2 separate regions of the Homo sapiens genome follow, and region 2 is linked to region 1. The links are contacts of gene promoters, found by promoter capture Hi-C in human tissues and cell types (Jung and others, 2019). All regions are on one chromosome and are shown on one strand. Each heading gives the region's core, a stretch centred on a gene start or on the middle of the fragment in contact. The rest is flanking DNA. Distances are from core to core; before and after follow the strand shown.

Evidence for each region. Contacts are between HindIII fragments. The study calls those that stand out against the background at their distance.
Region 2: a fragment that was not itself captured here is called in contact with the fragment with the promoter of CHADL in region 1 in 1 of the 25 tissues and cell types used here (lymphoblastoid cells).

Annotation. Positions count from the first base shown.
Region 1 is chr22:41,239,449-41,243,798 of GRCh38, forward strand. It overlaps CHADL (chondroadherin like), which reads right to left and starts at 1,483. Exons shown (of 6, transcript NM_138481.2): 1 at 1,426-1,483; 2 at 1-172. The coding sequence starts at 1,433. RefSeq lists enhancers at 1,086-1,586, 1,587-2,087. The HindIII fragment of the contact is 27,215 bases long and covers 1-4,350 here.
Region 2 is chr22:40,689,499-40,693,396 of GRCh38, forward strand. No RefSeq gene overlaps it. Among named protein-coding and RNA genes, the nearest start is that of MCHR1, 12 kb to the left of the region's middle. The HindIII fragment of the contact is 4,122 bases long and covers 1-3,898 here.

The DNA of each region.
Region 1 (4,350 bases), core at 233-2,732:
GATGGCGTCTGGCACCTCAGTGAGGTTCTGGTACCGGCAGGCAACGTGTCGCCTGGAGTTGTCACAGATGCAGGCCTGTGGGCAGCGCTGGGCGGCGGCCTGCCTAGCCGGGGCCAGCAGCAGAAGTACAAGAAGCGGCAGCACCAAGGGGACATGGGTGGAGCTCCGGGGCCTGGGACGGGGAGGGAGAGTCTGTTGTGCACAAGGGCCGAGGCCACATGCTGTCCCTCACTTAGTCCCAGCCATGGTGCAGCTCCTGCCCCAAAAACCCCTCAGAGCCTCCTCCTTTGGGCCCAGGAAAGTGCCAATCACCCTGAGCCTCCCTGCCCCCCACCCCCCACGCAGTGGAGGTCCTATGATTAGTCCTGTTTTACATGGGAGGAAACCGAGGCTCAGAAAAGTGACCTGGTTAGTCCCTTTGCCTCTGCCCAATGGCTCAGTGAGGACTTGCTGACTGTGAGAATGACTCCAGTTCAGAGCATGTTCTCAGGCTGTGGTGAGGCTCTGGTCCAGGGTAGGCTCGGAAGCAGCCTGTCCTCAGACTGATATGATGCCAGCTCCCAGGTGGCAGGAGCATAATGGTACCCCCCAGAAAGGAGGGAGGCATCCAGTCCGGGTCCTTGAGTCTTTTTTTGTTTGTTTGTTTAAATAGAGACAAGCCTTGCTCTGTTGCCCAGGCTGGAGTCTGGAGTGCAGTGGAATGACTATGGCTTACTGCAGCCTTCACCTCCTGGGCTAAAGTGATCCTCTCACCTCAGCCTCTTGAGTAGCTGGGACTACAGGCACACACCACCACGCCTGGCTAATTTTTTAATTACTTCTGGTAGAGACAGGGTCTCGCTATGTTGCCCGGGCTGGTCTTGAACTCCTGGCCTCAAGTGATTGTCCCACCTTGGCCTCCCAAAGCGCTAGGATGATAGATCACCTCCCCTGCCCAGCTGGCCCCTCTGTTCTCAGCCTGTGTCAGGCATGGCCTCTCCCCCATCGCTGGGCTGTTCCCCGGCCCCCAGGAGCCTCCCCCTCGCTGCTCACTGGACTATCGTCTGTTTTGGAGTCTCCTTTGGGTCCCAGGCTCCAGCCCCTGCGTTGGAGTTGGTGGCTTCTCCAGAGCCTGTGGTGAAGGCTGTGCCTCAGGGCAGGCCAGGGAGGGGACCCATGGGGACAGATCGCTGAAGCGACAAGCATTCATAATGCAGGGACCACTGCTGGGCTCTCAGACAAGCCCCAGAGGACCAGTTCCTGGCAGTGGCCACATTGCCACGTGTCTCAGAGCCCACCTTGGGAGACCCCCTTCCTGGAGAACCCCAGGAAGTCCCCAGAGCCCCTGCCCGCCAGCCTCTGAGAGGCCCAGAGGGGGCAGAGACTTACCTGAGGCCACTGAGCTGCTCTGAATCCCCCCTTGCACCATCGGGCCCAAAGACTCACCCCTCCATGCCGCCTGGAACTGCTGGTCCAGCCTGGAGGCGCAGCGCAGGGACAGGCTGTCCCCGCCTGGCAGGAGCCCCCCTCCACGGCCCGCAGGCCTGGCAGCTGGGACAGGGCTGAATGGGAGGCATTGTCGGCAGACCAGGCAAGCCAGGCTTCCCCAGGCTGAGGTGAAGAAGGGGCGGGCGGCGGGCGGGAGCAGCGGCTGGAGTTACAGGGCCTCCTGCCTGCCCCAGCCGAGGACTGAGGCCCCGGCCTGAATCCTTGGGCCAGCCCGACAGGGAGGGGGCACCAGCAGCTGGCCCGGGAGTCAGCAGTCCTGGGCTCCCTCCTGCCATGTGGGCTGCCCTCCCAGAGGCTGCTTCCTAGTCTCTGAAAAACACATCCCATTAATAAGTAGCTCTGAGGTCACAGTGGGGGTTCAGGCCCGCACCTGGCACACAGTGGGTGCTTCAGAACAGGTGACCCTTTCCTTCCGTTTGTGCTTACACATTGACATAAATAGTTTAATACTGGACACACAGGATTCTAGACACTCATTTTTTTCACTTAACCTCAGATTACTGGGAGTTATCCAAATTGACTCTTCCGAATCTCATTATTCTGTGGTATATAGTATTCCATTGTGTAAATGTATCACATTGACTTAGCCATTCATCTTGGACATTGGCTACCTCCAATTTTTTGCTATTTACAAACAATATTGCAAAGAATATCCAAATACGCATCTTCCCAAGCTCGTGTTTGTTTTTTAAATAATACATCCAGACCATGGCCAATGTTCATGTATCTTGATTTTTCAGATTCCTGCTTCTGATGGAATTGCATCTTCTACTGTTTGTTCCTTTAATTGGAAACAGGGGTCAGGCACAGTGGCTCATGCCTGTAATCCCAGCACTTTGGGAGGCTGAGGTGGGAGGATCACTTGAGCCCAGGAGTTTGAGACCAGCCTGGGCAACACAGACTCTGTCTCAAGAGAAAAAAAAAAGGCCGGGCGCGGTGGCTCACGCCTGTAATCCCAGCACTTTGGGAGGCGGAGGCGGGTGGATCACGAGGTCGAGATCAAGACCATCCTGGCTAACACAGTGAAACCCTATCTCTACTAAAAGTACAAAAAATTAGCCGGGTGTGGTGGCAGGCGCCTGTAGTCCCAGCTACTTGGGAGGCTGAGGCAGGCAAATGGCATGAACGCGAGAGCCGAGATGGCGCCACTGCACTCTAGCCTGGGCAACAGAGTGAAACTGTCTCAAAAAAGAAAAAAAATATATACATATATATATATATATATATATATATATATATATATATATATATATATATGTATGTGTGTGTGTATACACTTATGTGTGTATATATTTATATATAATAAAAATATAAATGTATATGTTTATATATATTTATATATGTTAAACAATGAACATCTGTGTGTACTTTTCCTAGACTGCAGGAGTTTTTTGTTTTTTGAGACAGAGTCTCACTTTATCGCCCAGGCTGGAGCTCACTGCAACCTCCACCTCCCTGGTTCATGCGATTCTCCTGCCTCAGCTTCCCAAGTAGCTGGGATGACAGATGTGTACCACCACATCTGGTTAATTTTTGCATTTTTAGTAGAGACGGGGTTTCGCCATGTTGGCCAGGCCGGTCCCGAACTCCTGACCTCAAGTGATCTGCCCGCCTTGATCTCCCAAAGTGCTGGGATTACAGGCATGAGTCACCACGCCCAGCCCTGCAGTAACATTTTAAAAAAAGAAATAGTGCCATGCCACACAGCCATCTGCTTTGTGCTTTTTTTGCTTGGCAAATTCCAATCAATGGAACTTCAGTGTGCTCTTTCGTCCTTTTTTTGAGACAGGGTCTCACTGTTGCCCAGGTGTGAGTGAAGTGTGATCATGGCTCACTGCGGCCTTGACATACCAGCCTCCCAAGCAGCTGGGACCTCCAGATATGCACCGCCACCTCCAGCTGGTTTTAAAATTTGTTGTAGAGTTGGGGTCTTGCTATGTTGTCCAGGCTGGTCTTGAACTCCGGGGCACAAGTGATCCTCCCACCTCGGCCTCCCAAAGCGTTAGGATTACAGGCATGAGCCACTGCACCTGGCTGTGTCTGGCGTTTTCCACTCAATATTATGTTAGTGAGAATCATCTTTTTATTTTTTTTTTGAGACGGAGTCTAGCTCTCGTTGCCCAGGCTAGAGTACAGTGGCGTGATCTCAGCTCACTGCAACCTCCGCCTCCCAGGTTCAAGGAATTCTGCTTCAGCTTCCCGAGTAGCTGGGATTACAGGCACCCGCCACCACACCCAGCTAATTTTTGTATTTTTAGTAGAGACGGGTCTCACCATATTGGCCAGGCAGGTCACAAACTCCTGACCTCAAGTGATCCGCCCGCCTCAACCTCCCAAAGTCCTAGGATTTACAGGTGTGAGCCCGCACCCGGCTTCATCTATTTTAATTTTTTTTTTAAATTCAGCATTCCAGCCTTCCATTCTATAAATATATGACAACAGTGGCATGGGGCAGGGGCGGGAGGCAGTCTGCCCACAATGCAGGCAGTAAGCGGGTGTGCTGTCAGTGGAGAAGTGAGACACAATGGAACTGACTTAAAGTTGGTCTCTGCTTTTTATTATCATGTGCTGACAAGTCTAAACAATGTCAATGCTAAAATATTTCTTCTTGGGCAGACCATTCCTACCTTCTCGGTACCACACCGTACCACAAGTAGCTTACCCATTCCTCTAGTGATAGACATTTGGGTTGTTTCCAGCATGGGTTTATTAGAAAGAGCACTGTAGCCGGGCATGGTGGTTCATGCCTGTTAAGTGAGCTGAGGCGGGAGGATCACTTGAGCCCAATAATTCAAGACCAGCCTGGACAACACAATGAGACCCTGTCTTTACAAAAAAAAGCTGAACGTGGTGGCTTGTGAC
Region 2 (3,898 bases), core at 656-3,155, 550 kb before region 1:
TACATTCCAGCCTTTGTATAAGCACACTGGCTCTTTCAGCAATTTTTTATTTTTTTATTTTTATTTTTATTTTTATTTTTTTTTTGAGACAAGAGTCTTGCTCTGTCACCCACAGCTGGAGTGCAATGGTGAGATCTTGGCTCACTGCAATTGCCGCCTCCTAGGTTCAAGAGATTCTCCTGCCTCAGCCTCTAGAGTAGCTGAGATTACAGGTGCGTGCCACCATGCCCAGCTAATTTTTATATTTTTAGTAGAGACGATGTTTCACTATGTTGGCCAGGCTGGTCTCGAACTCCTGACCTCAGGTGATCAACCTGCTTTGGCCTCCCAAAGTGCTGGGATTACAGGTGTGAGCCACTGCGCTCAGCCATCTTTTAATATTTAACTTAACCACTCAGTCAGTACTGAAACTGTTGTTATGGAGGCCTGCATGAGTGGGACCTGGCCTGCCACACAACCTCACTGGAGTACACCAACCTCAGATCTAATCCTGAGGACAGCCGAGGGAGGAACCTTCCAGATGGTCAGACATGGGATGGATAAGCCACTCACTTAATTCTCTGCAAAGCTGTCTCCTCCATTTGTGATGAATGGTGGTGATCTTGGACTACACAGAAGGGCAACACCCAAAAGAAAAGAGTCACTGCTCCCTCTTGAATCCGTCAAAGCAGATCGGGCTTCCATCCCCCGGCTGCCTCTCTTCGAAGCTTTCTCCTCTCAGGGCTCTCCCCGTCAGAGATCCTGTGCCCCTTCTCTCCCCAGAAAGGCAGGGAAATCCCTAGACTTGCACCTCGATATCACCTAGCTCAGGGGGTGTAAAATCAGGATGATTAAATGAGATGTTGCAAGTGTAACCCAAGTGCTCCCAGGGACACCTTAACCGGAAATAACATTCATATAAACCCACTTAAGTCTCCATCCTGCGAGGCGATGGGCCAGCCAGTGCCTTCCCAAATATCTCTGTGTGGTTACCTGCTGCCTCGGGCTCAGGTCATTGCTTGGCTGGTCACTACCTCTCCAAGCTGCTCTACCTCTCTGCAGGTGCTTCCCCCCAAGGCAGCCAGTGCTAGTGCAAGCCCGAGGCTGGGGCTGGGGATTGTCAAAGCAGGGAAGGTGGGGGGCGGGTGACAGTCCAGAATCGGATAGCACTGGAGTTGGCTGGCAGTCCTCACAATCCCTGCAGTCTGCCTGTTGCATTCTGTCATTGTGGGGAGAGGCCATCCTGCCCTCCCAGGCCTGGCCTGCTGTCCCAGGTCCGAGCCATAGACACTGGGTGAGACCCCTTTTCCCATTTCCCATTTCCTCTCTCCTCCCAGTTCCAGGATCTCCAAAACTCCCCTCTTCTGGCTAACCTGGAGAAAATCCACAATTCAGTGTACAAGGCAAAATAGTTCATGCCAAGGAAGACGCCCCTTCACTGTATTACGCACCACAGCGTATTCCTCTGTGCCTCAGTCTCTCTTACTGGCGAAAGGGGGAGAAGAGACGCTTTATCTTTGCACACCACCCTCAAAAAAAACCTGTTAAATGCTTGTCCAACAAAAGTATTAGTAATTTTTCTGGCTGAGCATGGTGGCTCACTCCTGTAATCCTGGCACTTTGGGAGGCTGAGATGGGTGGATTGCATAAGTTCAGGAATTCAAGACCAGTCTGGGCAACATGGCAAAACCCCGTCTCTACGAAAAATACAGAAATTAGTTGGGCATGGTGAGAGCATGCCTGTAGACCCAGCTACTTGGGAGGCTGAGGTGGGGGGAGGATCACTTGAGCCCAGGAGATAAAGGCTGCAGTGAGCTGAGATTGCACCACTGCCTTCCAACCTAGGCAACAGAGTGAGAGCTTGTATCAAAAAAAAAAAAAAAAAAAAAAAAAAAAAAGAAAGAAAAGAAAAAAGAAAAAGAAAAAGTATTAGTAATCTTCTAACAGAAGTTCTGTCCAGGATCTTTAGAGTATAGAGTAGAATCCAACATTTGGCTGCTGAGAAGTTCATCCAACCCACAGATGTGGTTTTTTGTTTTTCTCTTGCATGGTATAAAAAAGATTGTGAATTAGTTGCCAGCTTTTGAATCCATAGCTTTACTTAAAAATCTGGGTGACCAGCTTCCCTTGAAATATCAGAAGATCTGGCTACAGGGTTTACCTTCCCATGTGCCAACAGTCTGCTGGATGCAAGAAGCTACACTCTTAGGCAGTCATGCACTCCCCAGTTTGCCACAGTCTCCACTCCTCCCTATTGTCCCCTTGACTCAGCCAGCTTTATTTACTTAAGTCACTTGCCTGTACCATACAGACATTTAATTTCATATCCCTGGGTCCAGCTCATCAAATAGAGCTTTGTGAACCACATCAATGATTTTGGATTTTATACCAAAGCCAAGAGAAATCATCAAAAGGCTTTCCACATAGGAATGATATTGTTACTGGATAGAAGGTCTTGACTGTAAGTTGTCCAGATTCTTGGCACATTGAACAAAGAATTAAACAAAACACACAAAGCAATGAAAGAACGAAGCAACAAAAGAAGAAACAAGCAACGAAAGCGCAGATTTATTGACGTGAAAGTACAGAGCGTGAGCCGGCTCAAGCAAGTGGGTTAAAAGTCCCGATTACAATGTTCTTTAGGGTTTTTATTAAGCTAAAAGAATTTGGTGGCTGGGCGCGGTGTCTCACGCCTGTAATCCCGGGACTTTGGGAGGCCAAGGCGGCCAGATTACCTGAGATTGGGAGTTCAAGACCAGCCTGGCCAACATGGTGAAACCCGGTCTCTACTAAAAATGCAAAATTAGCTGGGCGTGGTGGCACATGCCTATAATCCCAGCTACTCCAGAGGCTGAGGCAGGAGAATCGCTTGAACCAAGGAGTTGGAGGTTGTGGTGAGCCAAGATCTCGCCATTGCGCTCCAGCCTGGGCAACAAGAGCGAAACTCCGTCTCAAAAAAAAAAAAAAAAAAAGAAAAAGAAAAGAAAAAAAGAATTTGGTAACACCCCTAGGTGCCCTTTAGAGGCCTCCAGTTGGTTACACCTTATGAAGGATTGGCCCACGACCAATCAGAGGCTGAAGTGGAAACTTCTGTCTTGTTATCATAGGAGTGAGGGTGCGGCCTGTGTGCAGCCCAGTCTTGCCTAGAACTGGCTGCATCTGCTGTTCTTTTGCTTATGCCTTAACCCATGGTTACCCTAATTCCCTATTATCCTGCCTCAATATGATTAGATTTTCATCCTTAAATCATCACTATAGATTCTGTATAGAGAATGGGATAGAAGCAGGTGGAAAATGAAAGCAAGGAGACCCACCGACCCTGGAGACCAGGCGACCCTGTACAGCAGCAATGGTAACGGCCTGGATTAGGGTGGTGGCAGTGGAGGCGGCGAGAGGTGGACACATATGAGATGTGTTTGTAAAGGAGAAGCCACAGACATTGGGAAGAGCTGGATGTGGAGGGTGAAGTGGAATGTGTTGATGGCACGTGTGATGGAGGATGGAGGGGCCATTGATTGAAATAGGGAAACTGAAGGGGAATCAGATTTGTGGGAGGAGATTTATTTATTTATTTATTTATTTATTTATTTGAGACCGAGTCTCGCTGTATTGGCAGGCTGGAGTGCAGTGGCACGATCTCGGCTCACTGCAACCTCCGCCTCCCGGGTTCAAGCAATTCTCCTGCCTCAGCCTCCCGAGTAGCGGAGACTACAGGCGCCCGCTTCCACACCCGGCTAATTTTTTGTATTGTTAGTAGAGACGGGGTTTCACCATGTTAGCCAGGATGGTCTCGATCTCCTGACCTCATGATCCGCCTGCCTTGGCCTCCCAAAGTGCTGGGATTACAGACGTGCGCCACTACACCTGGCGCAACTGCCTCTTTTAGGGGAAGCAAATGCTCCCTAGTTTGCCACAATCG